2 separate regions of the Homo sapiens genome follow, and region 2 is linked to region 1. Evidence: promoter capture Hi-C in human tissues and cell types (Jung and others, 2019). All regions are on one chromosome and are shown on one strand. Each heading gives the region's core, a stretch centred on a gene start or on the middle of the fragment in contact. The rest is flanking DNA. Distances are from core to core; before and after follow the strand shown.

Region 1 (4,488 bases), core at 479-2,978:
AGTCATTTCCACCAAAAAAAAAAAGCGGTGGGGGGGGGGGGTGTGCAAATTAATCCTAAACTCATGGCTCAGATAGGACCTGGTATAGTAAATAAATGCTTTTAAAAGTAGTCATGGCATTGAGAAATGGCTCCATGCACCTAAACCAGAGGCACCAATGTAAAAACTAGTAATTGTGTTTTAACACAAAAGATTGAAAAGCGTTTTGTTTCACATCCTAATATTATTCCACCCACTTAAAAAGAGTTACTTAATATTGACTCTGTATTAGGTATAAGACAAGTTCTTGCCCTCAAAGAACTTATAATTTAGTTGAGAAACCAAAACTTAACATGAGCTTAAAAAGAAGGATGCAGTACAAAACATGGTATAATTAAGTGCTAAACAATGTAGTATAGATGCTCAGTGACCTAGGAGATCAGAGGAAGGGAAGGGTCACTGAGGGCTGGGAATGTCAAAAGCATGTACTTTCAGTAAGTTCTTAAAATGATAGCATGTTAGAAAGCTGTTATAATTGCTGCTGATTTGTAATTTTAAAGCATTGACATGATTCACCATTGCTTTCCAACCAGTAGCTGTTTAAAAGGACATACAGTTGAGGGTGAAAGGAGATATTTCTTTATGATCTCCAGAGATTTGTATTGAGGGGAAAAAAGACATACTTTCTTGTTGAATAATAGACCAAGAATTGAGCATATTTTGCATGGGGAATATTAAATTCAGTGAACAAGAATCCAAACCTCAGGCTGTGATTCTGGTATAAATTTTTGTTTCTAATGAACCATTTTCTTCCTTCTAAAGAAGATTTAAGTTTTGGGAATAAGTCACCTCAAAAAAATTTTTTTTTATTTTCTAATATCTATTTTCACAATTTATTTTTCTTTTAAGAAAAGTGGACTAGAAGCTCAAGTTACCTTCTCAAGGCAATGAGAATTTTTTAGCTCTAAAAAAGTTGTGTGTGGTAGGGAGAACATTTAGCATCCTTTAAAATGGAGACATCTGAACAGCAACCTATCTTTTGAATCACCAAATCTCAAGTGTACTTTGCACTCTTGGTCTTAAAATGCTTTTCATTTTCTAGTTTGGCAAAAATTCCAGTCTCTTTACATTTGCTACCTTTTCCGTCTTTGCAACACAGGCAGTGTGAGCTAAATTAGGTTTGTTAAAATGAAGTTTTGAAGTTTCAACTGCTGAAATAGAGGCATGTCCCTAACTTTAGACAAATTTAGAGAATCGTAGTAAGCATTATTTTTTTTCTACATACTTGTCTGCATTCAGTGTCTTCCCAAGAAACGTCAGTTAATTCCCCGATTCGAAAAAGGAACTTTCTCGTAACAGTTGTACAACCAGGCTAAAGAGCACACCCTCGTCTTCCCTGAAAGGGAGGAAACATGCAATAATGTGAGGTAATTAAATTTAGCCTTAGAAAAGTCTTTGAAACGTTCTAATCAAGACTTTCAGCTTTCCGATTGTGTGCGCTTTATTTTTCAATTCTTCCTAGTCCCGGTTTTGCATTTCTAATGACAGTGAACTGACAAAGCGTGAAAGTGGTCTAAGGAGCAAAACAAAGCCAGCAAGCCTGCTTCTGGTGTGCCAAGATTAATCAATATTCCAGAAACCTCGGGGTTTCCCCCTCCTCCCTGTGCGGTTTCCATTCCCCACTCCTCCTTTCCCGGGCACAGACTCCTCCCCTTTTCTTAAGTTGCCCTGATAGTAACTTGCAGTTTCAGAGCACATGCACACTGTCAGGGCTAGCCTGCCTGCTTACGCGCGCTGCGGATTGTTGCTCCGTTGTACCTGCTGGGGAATTCACCTCGTTACTGCTTGATATCTTCCACCCCTTACAAAATCAGAAAAGGTAAGTGTCACATTCTGTGTTCCTGCTGGGTTTAATTTCTCCTTTCACTTCTCTGCCGATGTATTTTGCCTTCCAAGCAGAGGAGTAGCCTGAATCAAGGCTAGCCATTTTGGTAGATAAAGTCCTTGTTAGTCATCTCACGTCGTGAGAGTGTGGTGTCTGTTTATGCCGGGTCCGCTGTTAATTCGGAGTTGAGTCATTCGGGGTGGATTGGGGGCAGATTGTGGCGCGAGATCTAGAAAAGGATCAAGGTTGAGCGGATCTGCTTAAAAGTGACTGGTAAGAGGAATCAGAGCTATTAGTTTAAAAAAAAAAAAAATCTGGTCTCTCCTATTTCCCGGTCTTCACTTCTCCCTAAGCATTTAATCCAGTGTGAAGTCTTAAACAAATTAGAAGTCTTAGTATCACTGACCCCAACTTGCAATTTTATTTAAAAGGCAAACTGTTAAGACAAGTCTTTTTTTTTCCTGCACTGGGATTGCGAGAAGTCATTTGCGAGGAGTCCTTTGGTTTCCAGTTACCTCCCCCACAGGCGCACACGCTGGCTGCTTGCGTTGGCAGCGACACACATCCATGGTACGGCTGGTTTTCACTCGGATTGATTATGGGAAGGGCTATGGATTAGAGCTCCTGTAAAGCACCAGGAGGAATCCCTTGATTTTTCAGAACAGCTGATTTCCACCAGGAAAGAGATTTACTGAAATGTAGTTAAATAGCGTGAGTGCTTTAAAGAAACCAGAAACCACAAGCTGTAATGTTTGGAATGAAAATTGGTTTCATCTCATCTGTTCTAGAAATCCTAAATTTTAAAACGCTAAAAAGTCAGCGATAGTTTCCTCGGAAGATTCCAGCATGTGTGTCACAAAGAAAAACACTACTTCATACTTCTACTTGTGATAAACGAAGCTGAATTGTGATTTCAGATGATTTATAGATGTGCCCAGAGCACTTTGCTTATTTCATGGAAAAAAAATGAAAAAATTACCCTGTAAAATAGTCACATGTATTTCCCATGTACTGTGGGCACTTGTGTTCTTTTTATGACCATATTTACTAGTAGATATTATTATATTTTTTTCTTAATGAAGAAAATAGCTGGTTACTTTACTGCATGTAACAGAGACAACTCCCACCTATCAGTATCTTAATTATTTTTATTGACCTGGTTATGCTTTCAACCATGTATACAGCATAATTTGTCAAGTAATGATTGAATACTTTCTGTGCATTCAGTTCAATTGGACATTTACTGATTGTGTACGTTGTGCAAGGCATCAGCTGGGTTCTGCGGGGGAGGGTGGGAATAGGGGTTCTCAGTCAGATCTAGCTCTGAAGAACCCTTTTATAGCCTCATTGGAAGGGGAAGGACGGATTTTTAAAAAGAAAATAGAATATATTCCGAATTTATGCACATTTCTCACACGTGGTCCACTAAAATATGCACACTGCAACCTTGAGGTCTGGTATTGTGGCTCTCCAGTCCTTGATTCCTGCTGAGATTATGCAATTTGCCAAGAGCTTGCCTGGTGTGGAGCAGCACTGATTTCTCACCCCTGGAGGCTATAACTCATGTCTCTTTTTCTCCCATTCTAGTTGTGTTTTCTAATACCAAAGAGGAGGTTTGGCTTTCTGTGGGTGATTCCCAGACACTGAAGTGCAAAGAAGAGACCCTCCTAGAAAAGTAAAATATGACTAAAAGCAATGGAGAAGAGCCCAAGATGGGGGGCAGGATGGAGAGATTCCAGCAGGGAGTCCGTAAACGCACACTTTTGGCCAAGAAGAAAGTGCAGAACATTACAAAGGAGGATGTTAAAAGTTACCTGTTTCGGAATGCTTTTGTGCTGCTCACAGTCACCGCTGTCATTGTGGGTGAGTCATTTGATTAAAAACAAAAAAACCTGTATCTTGTTTCTCTGGGGCATCTGGCTGCCCGGGGAATATTATCAGATGAACTAGTTGTAGGTATCAAAATGGTAGCCTAGGCTTTCCTCTGAACTTGATGATTTTTCTCCATAAAAATGACTGTTTTGGCTTGTTTGGAGCAATATATAGTAAACACATCATTAGGCATCATTAGGCATTATGCAAATCAATTGTGTGAGGAAGAAAAATAAATAAAATATTTTCCCATTTCATGTAAGGATAAGGAAGTGATCATTTAATCATTAGGCATGACAAAGCAAGCATGCTAGATTTGGCCAAAATGTAATTATATACAATGTCAGTTGCACTTAAAACTAATTTATACAATTAGTACACCTAAAATGACATGTTGGTTCCAAATAGTAATTATATTCTAACTGGTGCTGACTTGAAGCTGAGTATCAACGCTTAGGCACAGAGACCGAATATTTTATGTGTTTGCACTCTCTCACCCAGCAACTGGGAAAGGTAGATTGGGGAAAATGTTAACACAGATCTCTTTCATTCATTGCTTTGCAGAGCCTGCCATAACCAGCTATACCTTTTTTTGAATCATTTCCATCTCTTACTAATTTAGCAGGGTTGACAGCAATCTGTACTAATAAAATATTATTGTTTTGTTTTGTTTATTGATCTTAAAAGTTATAGTTTATTACTTATGGGTGGCATTGATCCTACTTTAAAATATAGCTGAAAAAACCTACTTA
Region 2 (4,128 bases), core at 401-2,900, 97 kb before region 1:
TGATTAAGAACAAGGGCTGGGCAGACCGTGGGAGCTCATCACCGACTGCGTTAGACCAAAATTTGTGTTTTGACCAGGAGTTATGACATTCAAAGAAATAATAAAAGCTCAAAATTTATGATTGAATATTCAACTCCAGGAGTTAAAAAAAAATGAACAGGGTAACCCAAGGAAAGCAGAATGAAAGAAATGACAAAGGTAAGTAAGGATTCAATGAGTTAGAAAATAAACAACAGATGTCAAGAAAATCTAAGTTTTTCTTAAAAGGTAACTAAATTAACACCTGGCACAGAAAAAAGTATACACAATTAAAAATGTTAAAACGGAGCATAATTGGGGATGTTCCAAGATGGCCAAAAAGGAACAGCTCCGGTCTGCAGTTCCCAGCATGATCAATGCAGAAGACGGGTGATTTCTGCATTTCCAACTGAGGTACCTGGTTCATCTCATTGGAACTGGTTGGACAGTGGGTGCAGCCCACAGAGGGCAAGCTGAAGCAGGGTGGGGCATAGCCTCACCCAGGAAGTGCAAGGGGTCGGGGGATTTCCCTTTCCAAGCCAAGGGAAGCCGTGACAGATTTCCCTTGGCTAGGAAAAGCCAAGAAAACAGGACCTGGAAAAACAGGACACTCCTGCCAAAATACTGCACTTTTCCCAAGGTCTTAGCAACTGGCAGACAAGGAGGTTCTCTCCCGTGCCTGGCTCCATGGGTCCCACACCCACAGAGCCTTGCTCACTGCTAGCACAGCAGTCTGAGATCAAACTGCAAGGCAGCAGCCTGGCTGGGGAAGGGGCATCCGCCATTGCAGAGACTTGAGTAGGTAAACAAAGCAGCCAGGAAACTCGAAATGGGTGGAGCCCACTGCAGTTCAACAAGGCCCACTGCCTCTAGACTCCACCTCTGTGGGCAGAGCATAGCTGAACAAAAGGCAGCAGACAACTTCTGCTAACTTTAACATCCCTGTCTGACAGCTCTGAAGAGAGCAGTGGTTCTCCCAGCACGGCATTTGAGCTCTGACAACGGACAGACTGCCTCCTCAAGTGGGTCCTGACCCCCATGTGGCCTAACTGGGAGATACCTCCCAGTAGCAGCTGACAGACACTTCATATAGGTGGCTGCCCCTCTGGGATGAAGCTTCCAGAGGAAGGATCAGGCAGCAATATTTGCCGTTCTGCAGCTTCCGCTGGTGATACCCAGGCAAACAGGGTCTGGAGTGAACCTCCAGCAAACTCCAACACACCTGCACCTGAGGGACCTGACTATTAGAAGGAAAACTAACAAAACAGAAAGGAATAGCATCAACATAAACAAAAAGGTCATCTACACCAAAACCCCATCTGTAGATCACCAACATCAAAGACCAAAGGCAGAGAAAACCACAAAGTTGGGGAGAAACCAGAGCAGAAAAGCTGAACATTCTAAAAATCAGAGCACCTCTTCTCCTCCAAAGGATTGCAGCTCCTCGCCAGCAACGGAACAAAGCTGGACAGAGAATGACTTTGATGAGTTGGCAGAAGTAGGCTTCAGAAGGTCAGTAATAACAAACTTCTCTGAGCTAAAGGAGGATGTTCGAACTTATTGCAAGGAAGCTAAAAACCTGGAAAAAAGATTAGACGAATGGCTAACGAGAATAAACAGTGTAAAGAAGACCTTAAATGACCTGATGGAGCTGAAAACCATGGCACGAGAACTTCATGACTTATGCACAAGCTTCAATAGCCAATTCAGTCAAGTGGAAGAAAGGGTATCAGTGATTGAAGATCAAATTAATGAAATAAAGGGAGAAGAGAAATTTAGAAAAAAAAGAGTAAAAACAAATGAACAAAGCCTCCAAGAAATATGGGACTATGTGAGAAGACCAAATCTACATTTGATTGGTGTACCTGAAAGTGATGGGGAGAATGGAATCAAGTTGGAAAACACTCTTCAGGATATTATCCAGGAGAACTTCCCCAACTTAGCAAGGCAGGCCAGCATTCAAATTCAGGAAATACAGAGAACACCACGAAGATACTCCTCAAGAAGTGCAACCCCAAGACACATATTTGTCAGATTCACCAAGGTTGAAATGAAGGAAAAAGTGTTAAGGGCAGCCAGAGAGAAAGGTCAGGTTACCCACAAAGGGAAGCCCATCAGACAAACAGCAGATCTCTAGGCAGAAACCCTACAAGCCAGAAGAGAGTAGGTGCTAATATTTAACATTCTTAAAGAAAAGAATTTTCAACCCAGAATTTCATATCCAGCCAAACTAAGCTTCATAATTGAAGAAGAAATAAAATCCTTTATAGACAAGCAAATGCTGAGAGATTTTGTCACCACCAGGCCTGCCTTACAAGAGCTCCCCAAGAAAGCACTAAACATGGAAAGAAACAACCAGTAACAACCACTGCAAAAACATGCCAAATTGTAAAGACCATCAATGCTATGAAGAAACTGCATCAATTAACAGGCAAAATAACTAGCAAACATCATAACGACAGGATCAAATTCACACATAACAATCTTAACCTTAAATGTAAATGGGTTAAATGCTCCAATTAAAAGACACAGACTGGCAAATTGGATAAACAGTCAAGACCCATCAGTGTGCTGTATTCAGGAGACCCATCTCACATGCAAAGACACACATAGGCTCAAAATAAAGGGATGGAGGAAGATCTACCAAGCAAATAGAAAGCAAAAAAAAACAGGGGTTGCAATCCTAGTCTGATAAAACAGACTTTAAACTAACAAAGATCAAAAGTGACAAAGAAGGCCATTACATAATGGTAAAGGGTTCAATACAACAAGAAGAGCTAACTATCCTAAATATATATACACCTAATACAGGAGCACCCAGATTCATAAAGCAAGTCTTTAGAGACCTACAAAAGAGACTTAGGCTCCCACACAATAATAATGGGAGATTTTAACATCCCACTCTCAATATTAGACAGATCAATGAGATAGAAGGTTAACAAGGATATCCAGGACCTGAACTCAGCTCTGCAACTAGCAGACCTAATAGACCTCTACAGAACTCTCCACCCCAAATCAACAGAGTGTACATTCTTCTCAGCACCACATCACACTTATTCTAAAATTGAGCACATAATTGGAAGTAAAGCACTCCTCAGCAAATGTAAAAGAACAGAAATCACAACAAACTATCTCTCAGACCATGGTGCAATCAAATTAGAACTCAGGATTAAGAAACTCACTCAAAACCTCACAACTACATGGAAACTGGACAACTTGCTTCTGAATGAATACTGGGTTAAATAATGAAATGAAGACAGAACTAAAGATGTTCTTTGAAACGAATGAGAAAAAGACACAACATACCAGAATCTCTGGGACACATTTAAAGCAGTGTGTAGAGGGAAATTTATAGCACTAAATGCCCACAAGAGAAAGCAGGAAAGATCTAAAATCGACACCCTAACATCACAATTAAAAGAACTATAGAAGCAAGAGCAAACAAATTCAAAAGCTAGCAGAAGGCAAGAAATAACTAAGACCAGAGCAGAACTGAAAGAGACAAAGATACAAAAAAACCCTTCAAAAAATCAATGAATCCAGCAGCTGGTTTTTTGAAAAGATCAACAAAATTGATAGACCACTAGCAAGACTAATAAAGAAGAAAAGAGAGAAGAATCAAATAGATGCAATAAAAAATGATAAAGGGGATATCACCACTGATCCCACAGAAATACAAACTACCATCAGAGAATACTATAATCACCTCTACACAAACCAGAAAATCTAGAAGAAATCAATAAATTCCTGGACAGATACACCCTCCCAAGACGAAACCAGAAGACGTGGAATCTCTGAATAGACCAATAACAGGCTCTGAAATTGAGGCAATAATTAATAGTCTACCAACCAAAAAAAGTCCAGGACCAGAAGGATTCACAGCCAAATTTTACTAGAGGTACAAAGAGGAGCTGGCACCATTCCTTCTGAAACTATTCCAATTAATAGAAAAGGAGGGAATCCTCCCTAACTCATTTTATGAGACCAGCATCATCCTGATACCAAAGCCTGGCAGAGACACAACAAAAAAGAGAATTTTATACCAATATCCCTGATGAACATCGATGCAAAAATCCTCAACAAAATACTGGCAAACCGAATCCAGCAGCA

The links. The method cuts DNA at HindIII sites, captures the fragments that hold promoters and counts their contacts. A contact is called where the count stands out against the background at its distance.
Region 2: a contact is called between a fragment that was not itself captured here and the fragment with the promoter of SLC1A3 in region 1, in 2 of the 25 tissues and cell types used here (bladder and small bowel).

Annotation. Positions count from the first base shown.
Region 1 is chr5:36,604,878-36,609,365 of GRCh38, forward strand. SLC1A3 (solute carrier family 1 member 3) reads left to right here and starts at 1,729. Exons shown (of 10, transcript NM_004172.5): 1 at 1,729-1,858; 2 at 3,452-3,727. The coding sequence starts at 3,547. RefSeq lists an enhancer at 1,836-1,935. The HindIII fragment of the contact is 11,728 bases long and covers 1-4,488 here.
Region 2 is chr5:36,507,682-36,511,809 of GRCh38, forward strand. No RefSeq gene overlaps it. Among named protein-coding and RNA genes, the nearest start is that of SLC1A3, 97 kb to the right of the region's middle. The HindIII fragment of the contact is 3,090 bases long and covers 106-3,195 here.